Linked DNA regions of Homo sapiens: region 1 is linked to region 2. The links are contacts of gene promoters, found by promoter capture Hi-C in blood cells and fetal thymus (Javierre and others, 2016). All regions are on one chromosome and are shown on one strand. The core of a region is centred on a gene start or on the middle of the fragment in contact, and the rest is flanking DNA. Distances in the headings are between cores, read along the strand shown. Region 1 holds the start of LOC124906343 (U7 small nuclear RNA). Region 2 holds the start of COL8A1 (collagen type VIII alpha 1 chain).

What was found. Contacts are between HindIII fragments. The CHiCAGO score rates a contact against its expected background, and 5 or more counts as called.
Region 1: a fragment that was not itself captured here is called in contact with the fragment with the promoter of COL8A1 in region 2 in 2 of 17 cell types (total CD4 T cells and M2 macrophages); the score reaches 6.4 in total CD4 T cells.

Annotation. Positions count from the first base shown.
Region 1 is chr3:98,985,323-98,991,240 of GRCh38, forward strand. All of the region lies in intron 2 of LINC00973 (long intergenic non-protein coding RNA 973), which reads left to right. It overlaps LOC124906343 (U7 small nuclear RNA), which reads left to right and starts at 2,065; the gene lies at 2,065-2,127. The HindIII fragment of the contact is 4,175 bases long and covers 1-3,446 here.
Region 2 is chr3:99,634,824-99,640,552 of GRCh38, forward strand. COL8A1 (collagen type VIII alpha 1 chain) reads left to right here and starts at 3,771. Exons shown (of 4, transcript NM_020351.4): 1 at 3,771-3,841. LOC124909401 (a long non-coding RNA gene) reads right to left here and starts at 3,857. Exons shown (of 2, transcript XR_007095981.1): 1 at 3,764-3,857; 2 at 2,545-3,111. The HindIII fragment of the contact is 3,484 bases long and covers 1,823-5,306 here.

The sequences.
Region 1 (5,918 bases), core at 109-2,608, 650 kb before region 2:
GCAGCTGAAAATTAGAATAATAAACTGCCTTTTTAACCTGGATGAAATTTTTTTTACGTTTCATATTTCAGCATTCTAGAACTCTTTTGGAGGGCTTCCATCTCTCCAATTTGTTGCTAGTAAAATACAAAAACTCTGCTTCTTGCAAGGTGTTTGATTTGGAAGATATTCATTAACAATTACTCACCAGGAAAAAGGAACACTCTTTTGATCTTAGTAGTTCACCTTTCTTAAGCTGATTTAAGAGCTCCTCATCATGGTGCCCATGAGTGCTACATCAAATAATACATGTCAAAGCCCTAAAATATTAAGCAATTTCTGGTTAATAAGGAGTTTTTGAACAGAAGGAAATCTGTAACACTGTGAGCTTTTCGGTCTGGGAGTTAAGTAGATATAAACAGGACGAGGAAAGAATACACAATAAGCAACTTATCTCGTTAATTTTCCACACATTCCTAGACATTTGTGAGTGGATAACCTGGGCTTTTATTGTCCAACTGTCACTTTCACTGCATCAATTTAAAAATACAGCTGAAGAGCATGTTTTACTTAGAGTTTGTTTTTAAAACTAGCCAGTTAAATTGATCAGTTGTTAGATCTGACTTGATTACATCTAAGATATTCTCACAGGAAACTGGTTATGATAAGAACTTAAATTCTATCATCTGCTTATGGTAACTTAGCACAAGAAGCATTTTTTTTTAAAGGCCCCTTTCTTATCTTTTATTATTCGAAAATGAAAAACATATTTTTCTAGTATTACTGAGAAACACCAAGGGACCCACCCAACTCCCAGGCTACTCACTGTTCTTTCTCTTAATTGCTTTTGCATCATGTCCAAGTCTGAGCATTTGCACTGAACACATGCTTGATAAACTCTGCTGGCTGAAGATGCTTGTCTGCTTTGCATTCCTCAGCCTGTGAAGGATTTTTTTCTGCTTCACATACCTAAAGGGGCAAAGGTCAAATCCCCTCAGCTGCAGATGAGGTCATATTGCTGATCGCCTGCAGCTGATCACAATAAAAACAAGTTCTCCCATGTGATCCATCCTCCCTATTTAGGAGCAGTGATGTCATCTCTAGTGAGACAGGATGAGACATGCAACTTGTTTTAAATTGAACTACATAAATTTTTCTTCTGACTTCACTGCAATCTTTTATTTACATTTTAGCAAAAGGATTAGTTTGGTCATCGTTTCAAACTAAAAAACACCCATAAATGAAATAGAGGGAGATTATATTTTATAAGTAGTCATTCATATTAAGTTGAGCCACATGAAATCGCCATTTTTCTATGTAAAATGATTGGATATTGGCAATTTCATGGTTCATCCTAATACTTCCAAAGCACCTACCTCCTAGAATATTAAACAAGTTCTAGAATCAGGCAGACCTTAGTTTGAATTCCAACTCTGCCATTTACTAGCTGGGTGATCTTAAAACTTTAGGGTAACTTTCAGAACCTCACTTTACTAAATTAAAAAAAATGAATAACATAATATGTACCTCACAGGGTTATAGCTAACACCTGTAAAGTCCTTAGGAAATCATTTGCCTACAGGAGGCACTCAATCCATGGTGTTAGTAACAATAGAATTAATACTGGTAGTGTAGTAACATAGGTCCCTTAGCCAAAGCCCTAGGGTCAGATGTGTTTCAGAGCTCGTAACTTCTCTGATTTTAGAAAAATCAGAAAAGTTATGAGTGGTGCTTATACTACTGTATACTACTGTATACTTATTATATAGTAGTATAATATTATAGTATTATAATATTATACAGTACTATAATATTATAGTATTATATAGTAGTAGATATATTAGATACCATGAGGATATTATGAGTAGTGCTTATACTACTGTACTGTAGTGCTTATACTCAGGACTAGCTACATAATTTACAGGGCTCTGTGGTGGGGGTGGGGAAAGCAAGGCATCTTGTTAAAAAATTATTAAGGATTTCATGATGCCACAGCAGAGCTTTTAGCCAAGTGCAGGGTCATTGTTAAGTGTAGGGCCCTGTGTGACTGCCCTGTTGTTTACATACTGTCTCAATATATACCCACAGTGTTACAGATCTTTTAGAATTTGTCTAGTACATTTTCCAGTTTTCACCAGGAATCTGCCTCCCCACCCCCCACAAAAAGTGAATAAAAAGAAAGGAAAAAGAAAACAAATAAATAAAATATATGTATACCCACAGCAAGGTCTGAGGACAGTATTCAAACACATTAATGCTTCTCTAGGAAAATGTTTGAATATTGACACTAAGTGGAGTACTTGACATGAAAAAATGCTCACCATCACTGGCCATCAGAGAAATGCAAATTAAAAGCACAATGAGATACCATCTCACACCAGTTAGAATGGCAATCATTAAAAAGTCAGGAAACAACAGGTGCTGAAGAGGATGTGGAGAAATAGGAACACTTTTACACTGTTGGTGGGACTGTAAACTAGTTCAACCATTGTAGAAGTCAGTGTGGCGATTCCTCAGGGATCTAGAACTAGAAATACCATTTGACCCAGCCATCCCATTACTGGATATATACCCAAAGGACTATAAATCATGCTGCTATAAAGACACATGCACATGTATGTTTATTGTGGCACTATTCACAATAGCAAAGACTTGGAACTAACCCAAATGTCCAACAATGATAGACTAGATTAAGAAAATGTGGCACATATACACCATGGAATACTATGCAGCCATAAAAATGATGAGTTCATGTCCTTTGTAGGGACATGGATGAAACTGGAAATCATCATTCTCAGTAAACTATCGCAAGAACAAAAAACCAAACACCGCATATTCTCACTCATAGGTGGGAATTGAACAATGAGAACACATGGCCACAGGAAGCGGAACATCACACTCTGGGGACTGTTGTGGGGTGGGGGGAGGGGGGAGGGATAGCATTAGGAGATATACCTAATGCTAAATGACGAGTTAATGGGTGCAGCACACCAGCATGGCACATGTATACATATGTAACTAACCTGCACATTGTGCACATGTACCCTAAAACTTAAAGTATAATAATAAAATAAAAAAAAAACAATTAAAAAAAAAGACTGTAAATATCTTTCTGTCAGTTCAGGTCAGATTTACCACCAAATGCATTTACCACAAACTTAGGAAAACCTTGCAGTTTTCAGAACATTTTGGATCTGGAATTTCAGATAAGGGACTGTAGTGGGGTTTACATTGTGTTTTCCAGGCTAGCCACACATTGGGGGTTTATGTAACAGACCTGAAGGTCAATCTGAGAATATTGAAGCCAAGGGCAATTGGGTTCGAATCCTGTTTTGACACATAGTAGTTGTGAGACTTTAGGCAAGACACTTTGGAGGCAGGGTTATAATGTGGTTCCCTAGGAGCCTTGGCTGAAGGGATGGGAGGGAAATCACAGCCTTCATTTACTGGTGGATGGATGGGCAGCAAGCTTCTAATGACAACAATAAACATAACCAAACAATGCCCACCACCCCAAAAATGCAAACCCAACAATTTGACTTCGTCTTCTACTTTATTTAGAGTTCTGCCTTCACTTACTGTCTTCTGATGCCTCTCATCATGGTGTTAACTGTCATGCTAACATATTTTCTTTACAAATGCGCTCTTAATACAGAATGTGACCAGGGAGTGAAGCTGTGTGATATGGTTTGAATCTATGTCCCTGCCCAAATCTCATGTCGAAATGTAATCCTCAACATTAGAGGTGGGGCCTGGTGGGAGGTGATTGAATCATGGGGGCAGACCCTTCATAAATGGTTTAGCACCATCTCCTTGGTGTTGTTCTTGTGATAGAGTTCTCAGAGAGCTGGTTGTTTAAAAGTGTGTTGCTCCTCCCTCCTGACCCTGCCACTGTTCCCCCCTTGCTAGACACCTTGCTGTCCTTTTGCCTTCTGCTGTGATTGGAAGCTTCCTGAGGCTTCGCCAGAAGCAGAAGCCACTATGCTTCGTGTATTGCCTGCAGACCCATGAGCCAATTAAACCTCTTTTCGTAATAAATTACTCAGTCTCAGGTATTTCTTTATAGCAGTGTGAGAATGAACTAATACACTGTGCCTCCTGTCTAAGCATCCATCCCAGCTCTGTCTTTGGCCAAAATTTGAGTCTGTGGAATAATAATGGGTGCCATTTATTGCAACTTACCATTTTGGTGAACAAAGGGCAGTTCCATCCATGTATAGTAGGGGCTTGGAATCAGGTTTCTTATTGGAATCTATGATGTATTTATCAGAAGCTATATATACTTGTATTATCCTACAATGACTCAATGGAATGATTCCTGAGGCAAGCAGTCTTAATGAAACCAAGTTGATTTTTCTCACAATGCAGAAAGAAATCAGATTAATTTAACCTGTATAATATTTATTATTTTATTAATTATGTAATCTTCTTAGGATATAAAATAAGTGGACAGAATTTTTAAAAGTTTAAGAGGATGGGATTTTAATGGAAAACCGCAAAACACTTGAACAGAAAGAGATGCACAGACATACACTAGAAAAAAATACTATACCTTAATATCCTTACAGATTAAGAAATAAAATAGTTGATAGAATTGTCCTAGTGGAGCATGAGACAATGAAATCATTTCAAGCATGCTGGAGTGAGAAAATTAAGGTCAGAACCTGTATTTCATCCATTTGCATCCTAGAAAATGAGGCTGCCTAAGAAAGCAAGCATGACCAACTCCAATTATTTTTTGCAAGCGGCATGTGCAATTGTGCTATCATTCAATAGAAGTTCAAAGTAGGAAAGTATCTTATTATGGTTGAGAATACACCAAGAAATTTCCAGTGGAAACAACTGGATTGTTAAACTGAATGAAAATATTCAGAAATGAGTGTGTTTACCATAAAGTATCTAAATTCTAGATGCAAAACATCTGAATGTAAGTTATCCATGTAATAAGCAGAAGTGAGTATAAATAATACAATCATTGAGACCGAGAAAGAGGTGGGTTATTTGATAAGAACTGCAGATGACTACTTTCCCCAGGAAAGGTATGCCCTTCAGTAACCACCTACTACCATGTCTACCCTTACTTTTCGGAGGGAATAGCAGACTCTTCATAACTACTAGAGCCCTTTCTTATTTTGTGGGAGGTATGGGATGCCATGACTCCCTTGAAAAATCTGCACTTACCTTTTATGGGAGAAGTCTCATGCTTCACAATGTCTAGAGATTTGGAATTTCTAATTTTTTTTTCATGTTTCACAGTCTTCTTTCCAATCTCTTAATATGGTATTCATTTTACTCTTTAAAATTCCTCCCTTGATTTTACCTGCTATTTGTACAGTACATGTACAAGTTTAAAAATAAGAATAGCCATGCTTATATCGCATGGACTCTGTGCTAGGCACTGTTCTGAATGCTTCACATGTATCTATTCATCTAACCTCACAATGTCTCTAAGAGCCACCTTAATGATTACCATTTCCATCTTAAAAATGAGGAAACTGACTTACAGAGAGGTTAAGCACCTTGCATCACTAATAAGTGGCAGAGCCCTGATTTCGATCCAAGGAGTCTGGTTCCAAAATCTTGCTTAACCACTCATGCTACTGTTCTACCTTAGCAGACTTTCCCTTAGTAGGTTATTTTATTGGTGCCTTTAGTCCTGAATCATTTTATCCCTTCATGTTTGGAAAGTATTCAATTCTTATAACAAACCAGAAATAAATGCCAAAAGCATCTTTGAAATCTTTTGAACTTCTCCTATTTGAGACATTTTTTAGACCTATCATCATGGACTTCACTTTCCCAACAGACTTGGATTTTAACAACTTCAGCACAGTGTTGCTATAACATCAGATACTGGGAAGGCACAATGGGACTCACCCACTTAGATTTCTGTGATGGGGCTTACTTCACACTCTAGACTCCAGAATCTTAAATCTTTT
Region 2 (5,729 bases), core at 2,521-5,020:
ACTCTGTTTTCTCTATTTCTAAGTATGCTATCAGTCTGAGATGCACAGGCAAGCATTTATCTGCAAAGCCACAATAAAGACCCTATATTCAAAGAAAAATGAAATCTTGAAAATATGCCACTTTCACCATGCCATTCTATTGCTCAAAAGTCTTCATTGATTCTGCATTGCCTACAGAATATAGTTTATACTTCAGACTACTGAGGTGACCTCATCCCTCCTCATCCCTCCTCTCCATTTCTCAGCCTCATTGTTCTACCACATGGACCTTTCTATACAGTCATGCTGGCCAATTCACCACCTTCTGAATATTCCTGTGATTTCCCTGGTTGCACACATATCCTCCCTTGCCTGGAATGTACTACTGTCCATCACTCGTCTATTCAAATGCTACTTTCCATGGCTCAGCTCAAATGCCACCTCCTCCCTGAAGTCTCTTTACTAAAATTCAACTATCAGGATTTCATGCTTTTCTTCCTCTGTGAGAAAAGATGTCATATTTTCCTCTGCTTTGAATACCTCACATTGTCTGATATCCATTCTTAATAAATATTTGTTAACTGATTAATTCTAAATAAACTCCAAAAAAGGGTTACATTTGCAAAGCTCTCAAAAGTAAGGTAATGATCTGTAGCTGTTATAGCCACACAATGGAAACTTCAGAGCATCTAGTATGTTGTCATTGGATTCCTTTCCTTCCACAGAAGACCAAACTAGGTCATTTCAAACCTCAGTCACCTTCAGAGAGATTCTAGGAAGGGCACACTAAGAGTCAGCAAAGAGACGACATTCCTGGATTCCTGACTTGTTGTCCAGATCTGCTACTGAATCAGATTCAGGTAAGTGTGAATGGGAGAAATGAACTAATTATTAGTGCCATCCAAAAAAATGAAAGCAGTGCTTTTGTTATGTTGGCTGGTTTGAAAGGAAGAAAGAATTAAAAATAAGAAGAGAAATTCAGCCTACAGCCATCAATTGTCTTTTCTTCAAATGTGCTTTTCTTGCCTTTCTGGTATTTTTTTTTTTTCATACGTATGTGATGGAACTGGAATGTTTGAGAAGAATTAACTTAGGATAGAAAAGATGATTTGTTGTAATCTGATAAGGGTATTTACTAACATACTTTATCACCCAGCTTCTCCTCTAAAAGTCCCATTTTGTTTCCCCAGAACACATTTCTTTGCTAAATTAAAAAGTTCCAAAAGTGGTATTGTGCTTGTAAAATCACATCTGATTTCAGCGTTATGTCCAAGAATAGATAATGCAGTCCTATTTCTAGGTCTAGTAACAAGTGTTACTCGTTTGACAGACTTCACTCAGTAGATTTGGCCACATCCTCAAAAGACATACTATTTGGGAAGAGGAAAACTGAGTTATGGAGGGTAAGAAGAGAGTAAAACCAAACAGCAAACGGGCAGAAAGTTGATGTGAAAGTTTTAGCTTTCTAAGCATTCATTAAACTAACAAATGCTGACCATTCTCTATTGTCAGTCCTCAATATTGCTGTTTATTCAATTAGCGAGACTATACATATTTATTGAGCACTTATTTTTTACTAGCTAGTAAGCCACTAGTTATAACTTTGTGCAGCCAAAAAATTATTGAATATAATTTGAATAGGGAACATAGAGATAAAAAATTATAAAAAGGCGAATAATCAATAATGCAAAACATCGTGAGTAAATTTGAAAACTCTGGTGTCAAATTTGTGTTTACGATAAAAATTTTAAATTTTTTATTTCATATATGATTGTTCTTGCCTCATATCCCGGGCACATGGGAGTTTATTTCGTTGACTCCCAGACGTAACCAATTGAGAATAAGCTTAGTTACAAAGGAAGTAATTGAGGCTTTGAGCTCTTGAAGCTAACAGATGGAAATACGTATGTAAAAACCTAAGTGCTGTGTAAACTCGGCACATATGGACGTAGGTATTATTATTATCCAAATGGCACTACTGGGTATTTTCTTAATAGATTCTTTTAAAATGCTTTTTTATAGTTGTGGGCCTTTTTTAGACGAATAGTTCTTAAGAAGAGGAGGGGATTTTGTCCCTCAGCGACATTTGGCTAAATCTAGAGACATTTTTTATTTTCACAGCTGGGTGGCGAGTGCGGAGTGGGTACTGCTACTGGCATCTGGTGGGTAGAGGCCACGGACACTGCTTAACATTCTACAGTGCACAGGAGAGGTCCCTACAACAGAGAAATATTCTCCCGAAAGTTTCAGTAGTGCTAAGTTTGAGTAATTCTGCTCTTCACCATCAAGTTTCCTTCTCTTGGAGCCTGCTACCAGCCAATGACATCAGGATCTAACCTGAGACGAACCTAGGTGTTCTATACGGCAGCCTGGTGTACTGAAGAGTGCCTAAGGTTTGCAAGCTCGCTAGCTGTGGCTCCCCCTCTCGCTAGCTTGAGCTAGTTATTTAAACCCTTAGAGATGCCTTTCTTTAAATTAAAAAAAAAATAAATAAATCTGCACAATATGAATCATACCTACCTCATAAGGTTGCGGTGAACACTGAATGAAGTACATATATACATATTCAGTACAAGTTCGTTCCTTTATTATTTCCAGCCTACCCATCCCTCCCCCCTCCCATTCCCGCCTTTTCCCCCTCCCGGTACTGTATCTCCCACCCCAAGTCTCAGGTTCTCTTTTAAAATGCTTTAATTCCTTTGGTGGCAAAAATCAGGCTTGGGCTAGGAAGTGAGTCACCACTCAGCAGCGAAAGGAGCTTGTTTTTCTTTCTCTGAATGCATTTCTTAGTAATTTCAGACTGATCCTTTAGCCACTTGTTGGTTGAATCCTCTCTTAATGTTTAAGACACACTGAGAAAGAACTGTGGCACCAAGACGTTTTCCGATTGTTAGGAATGAGAGTGTTTTAAATACCGAAAATAACCAGAGGGCAGAGAGCTCTGAAATCCTACGTTACATAAGCAGATGCTGGAAGACCCAGGCTGGTTCTGAGGTTCCTGTCTCCACAAGCAAGTCCACGCGAATCCTCCCCGTTGCTGGATTTACTTTAATGCTGCCGAAGTCTCAAAAGGGGCCTCTGGATGCTCAGAGGACAGGCAGCGCAGGAACTTCCTTGTCAAATAAGCCTTGCCTGGAGGGAGAGGGATGGGGCGATTTTCACCCGCGGGCGGTGGGACGGGGCTGAGGGCTGGGGGCTGCCTGGCTCCAGGCCATGTCAGTGCCTCCAGCTCCAGGTCCGGGTCCACCCTGAACTTTGGCTCTGCTGCCCGGACGCCCAGCTTCACCTCCCTTGCCTCGCTTAGAAACCCTTCAGTTCTCCCGGACCGCTATGTAGCTTTTCAAATTCCCAAATTCACAGAAAACACCTTCAAAAGTCACAATCACCCACAACTCCCTCTGCCAAAAAATGTCATGCAAAAACGGAAAATACTCCGATTCCCCTTTCCTCCCAGACACTCTCTCTCTCTCTGTCTCTGCTATTCATTTTCTCCCCCACCTTTCCCCATCTGTGGTCAAGATCCCTTTCACTATTTCTAGTTCCCTCTCTTTTTTCCCTTCTCCCTCTCTCTCCCTTTTCCACTCCTTCCTCCGTTGTGACCGCGCTCCCCCTCCCCCCGCCCCGTCGTCTCTCCTCCGCCTTGCGGGCTCCAGTCTCTGCCCGCCCCTCCCCAGAGAAGAGTGTCCAGCTCCTCCAGAGGCTGCCCGCCCGCCGCTCCTTCCCTGCCCACCTACTATGAGGAGCAGCTCCTCCCACCTGCCCATAAAAGCCAAGTGCATGTTACCAGCAGCGGATCACAGCCCTTCCCCGATCCTCTCCGTGGGAGCCAGCGAGCCTCTCTCCCTGATCTTACGTGCTCAAGGTAAGACAGCACTTCTGCAGGCAGCTCACCTACCAGGGGTTGCTATGGGGGAATAAGTCACCCTCTGGCCAACGCGTTTGCTGTTTGGTTAGAGCTGATTCTTACGGATGCGCGATCCGCTGCTCCTTTAACTAGCAACTGGTTTGAAAACAAACTTCTGTTTGAATGGTAAAATAAAAGCTCCTTCAGGGAAGAAACAGCAGCATAAATATTGCGAAACCTTTCTCTTTTTAAATCACTTTTTCTCCTGTTGCTGACTGTTGCTTAGGTTAAAATGTATCTGTTTGGGGTGTTGTACTGACGTTTTTCACTGTACATATTTCACACATCAGTGGGGGCAAGGAAAACGTTGTCCCATTGTCAAAAATGTACTTTAAAAGAACACAGTTAACTTCCTAAAAATAGCACAGTCAAAAGGTCTGCTAACAATTTTGTGATGTTTTCCAAACCCCCAAGACAGCTTCTGTGAGTCCTTTAAAAAAATATCTTTCCAGGTTTTAGCGCTTGGAAAAAAATGATGTGAACGGGTGCCCTTTGCACGGGGACAGTAAGTAATCAGGTGGCTGGTAGATAGGAAGGAACAAATCCAAATTCACAAGCCAGGGTAGAATGTGCTCTCTCACCAGGCTATCTTTTCACGACATCCTAAAATGAGAATTACGATGGAACTAAGAAAGTGTATAAAAGAACTTCATGAATTTCTGTACACACACCTAAACATAAAGTGTTTCAATATGTTTCACAGTAAGAGAATAATACAGGCCAGATTATACAATACTTCTGTGCACACCAGATGGTTGTAAAGAAAGATCAGCGAGAAAGGCTTTGGAAGTTTTAATCCTTCTTTCCACCTTTTTTCCCCCGCATTTAGTAAATCACAACCTACCTGACTGGCATCCAATTATCAGAGATATTCAGTGTTTAAGCTACCCTCTTTAAAAGAAAATGATCTCTTCTTATTCCTAAGGTAGAATAAATGTGCACCTGTGAAAGGAAAAACATACTCCACAGCCACTTCTGTAAAACCAGACACTTGGTCCATGAAGTTTGCCATCAAATTCTGTGGGTTGTGTGGGATGAAACTCTCTCAAGTGGGAGAAAAACCCTCTTCAAATGTTTCCTCTGGGGAATTGCTCAAGACCACTTAGAGAAGGCAAACCAAAAGTACCAGTCAGGAAACCAAACCACTCTTTTAGCCCTTAAGGTTCTTAAAGTAAGAAGAGAAATGTTTCACTTTTTTATTTTTTTGTTTGTTTATATTATCTCATGTGGAAAGAAAAAACTCACCGAAGCTGTATGAAATTCTCCCCTATTAAAGAAACAAGACTCATTAGAAATTTAACTTAGGTCTTCCAAACCATTTCTCCTTAGCTTTTGCATATCAAAAGTAATAAAAATATTTAAAAGTTCTGCTTGAGATGGAGAGGATTCAATGCTGTTACTCAAATGCAAGAGTTATATATAAAGCTTCTGTCACGTTAAATTTTTCTTCATTGGAAAAAAATATTGCAAGAAGTGCAGTTTCCTTTAAGCAAATTATATAAAATTACTATTGGCCAAGATAGTATGTGACCTGAGCATATTAACATACCTTTTATCTCATGCCACAATGCAGACTGCTTGCTTTATATCTGATGCACATAGGTAATCAACCATGACAAGAGTACAGGTATGGGACAAGGCCAGACCAAGTATGTGGCACATTCAAGTTAATTCTTCTTTTATGGTAGTGCCTGACTCACACCCATTATCACAAGGATGAAAATACGCTGCTTCATTCACCAGATCCCCTTGAGGGAAGTTATCTTTTCTTGGGGTGGAGGGGGAAATGCTCCCAGTTTAAATGAGCTTCCAGTTATTCCTAAGTTTGGGGATAAAAGTATTCTCC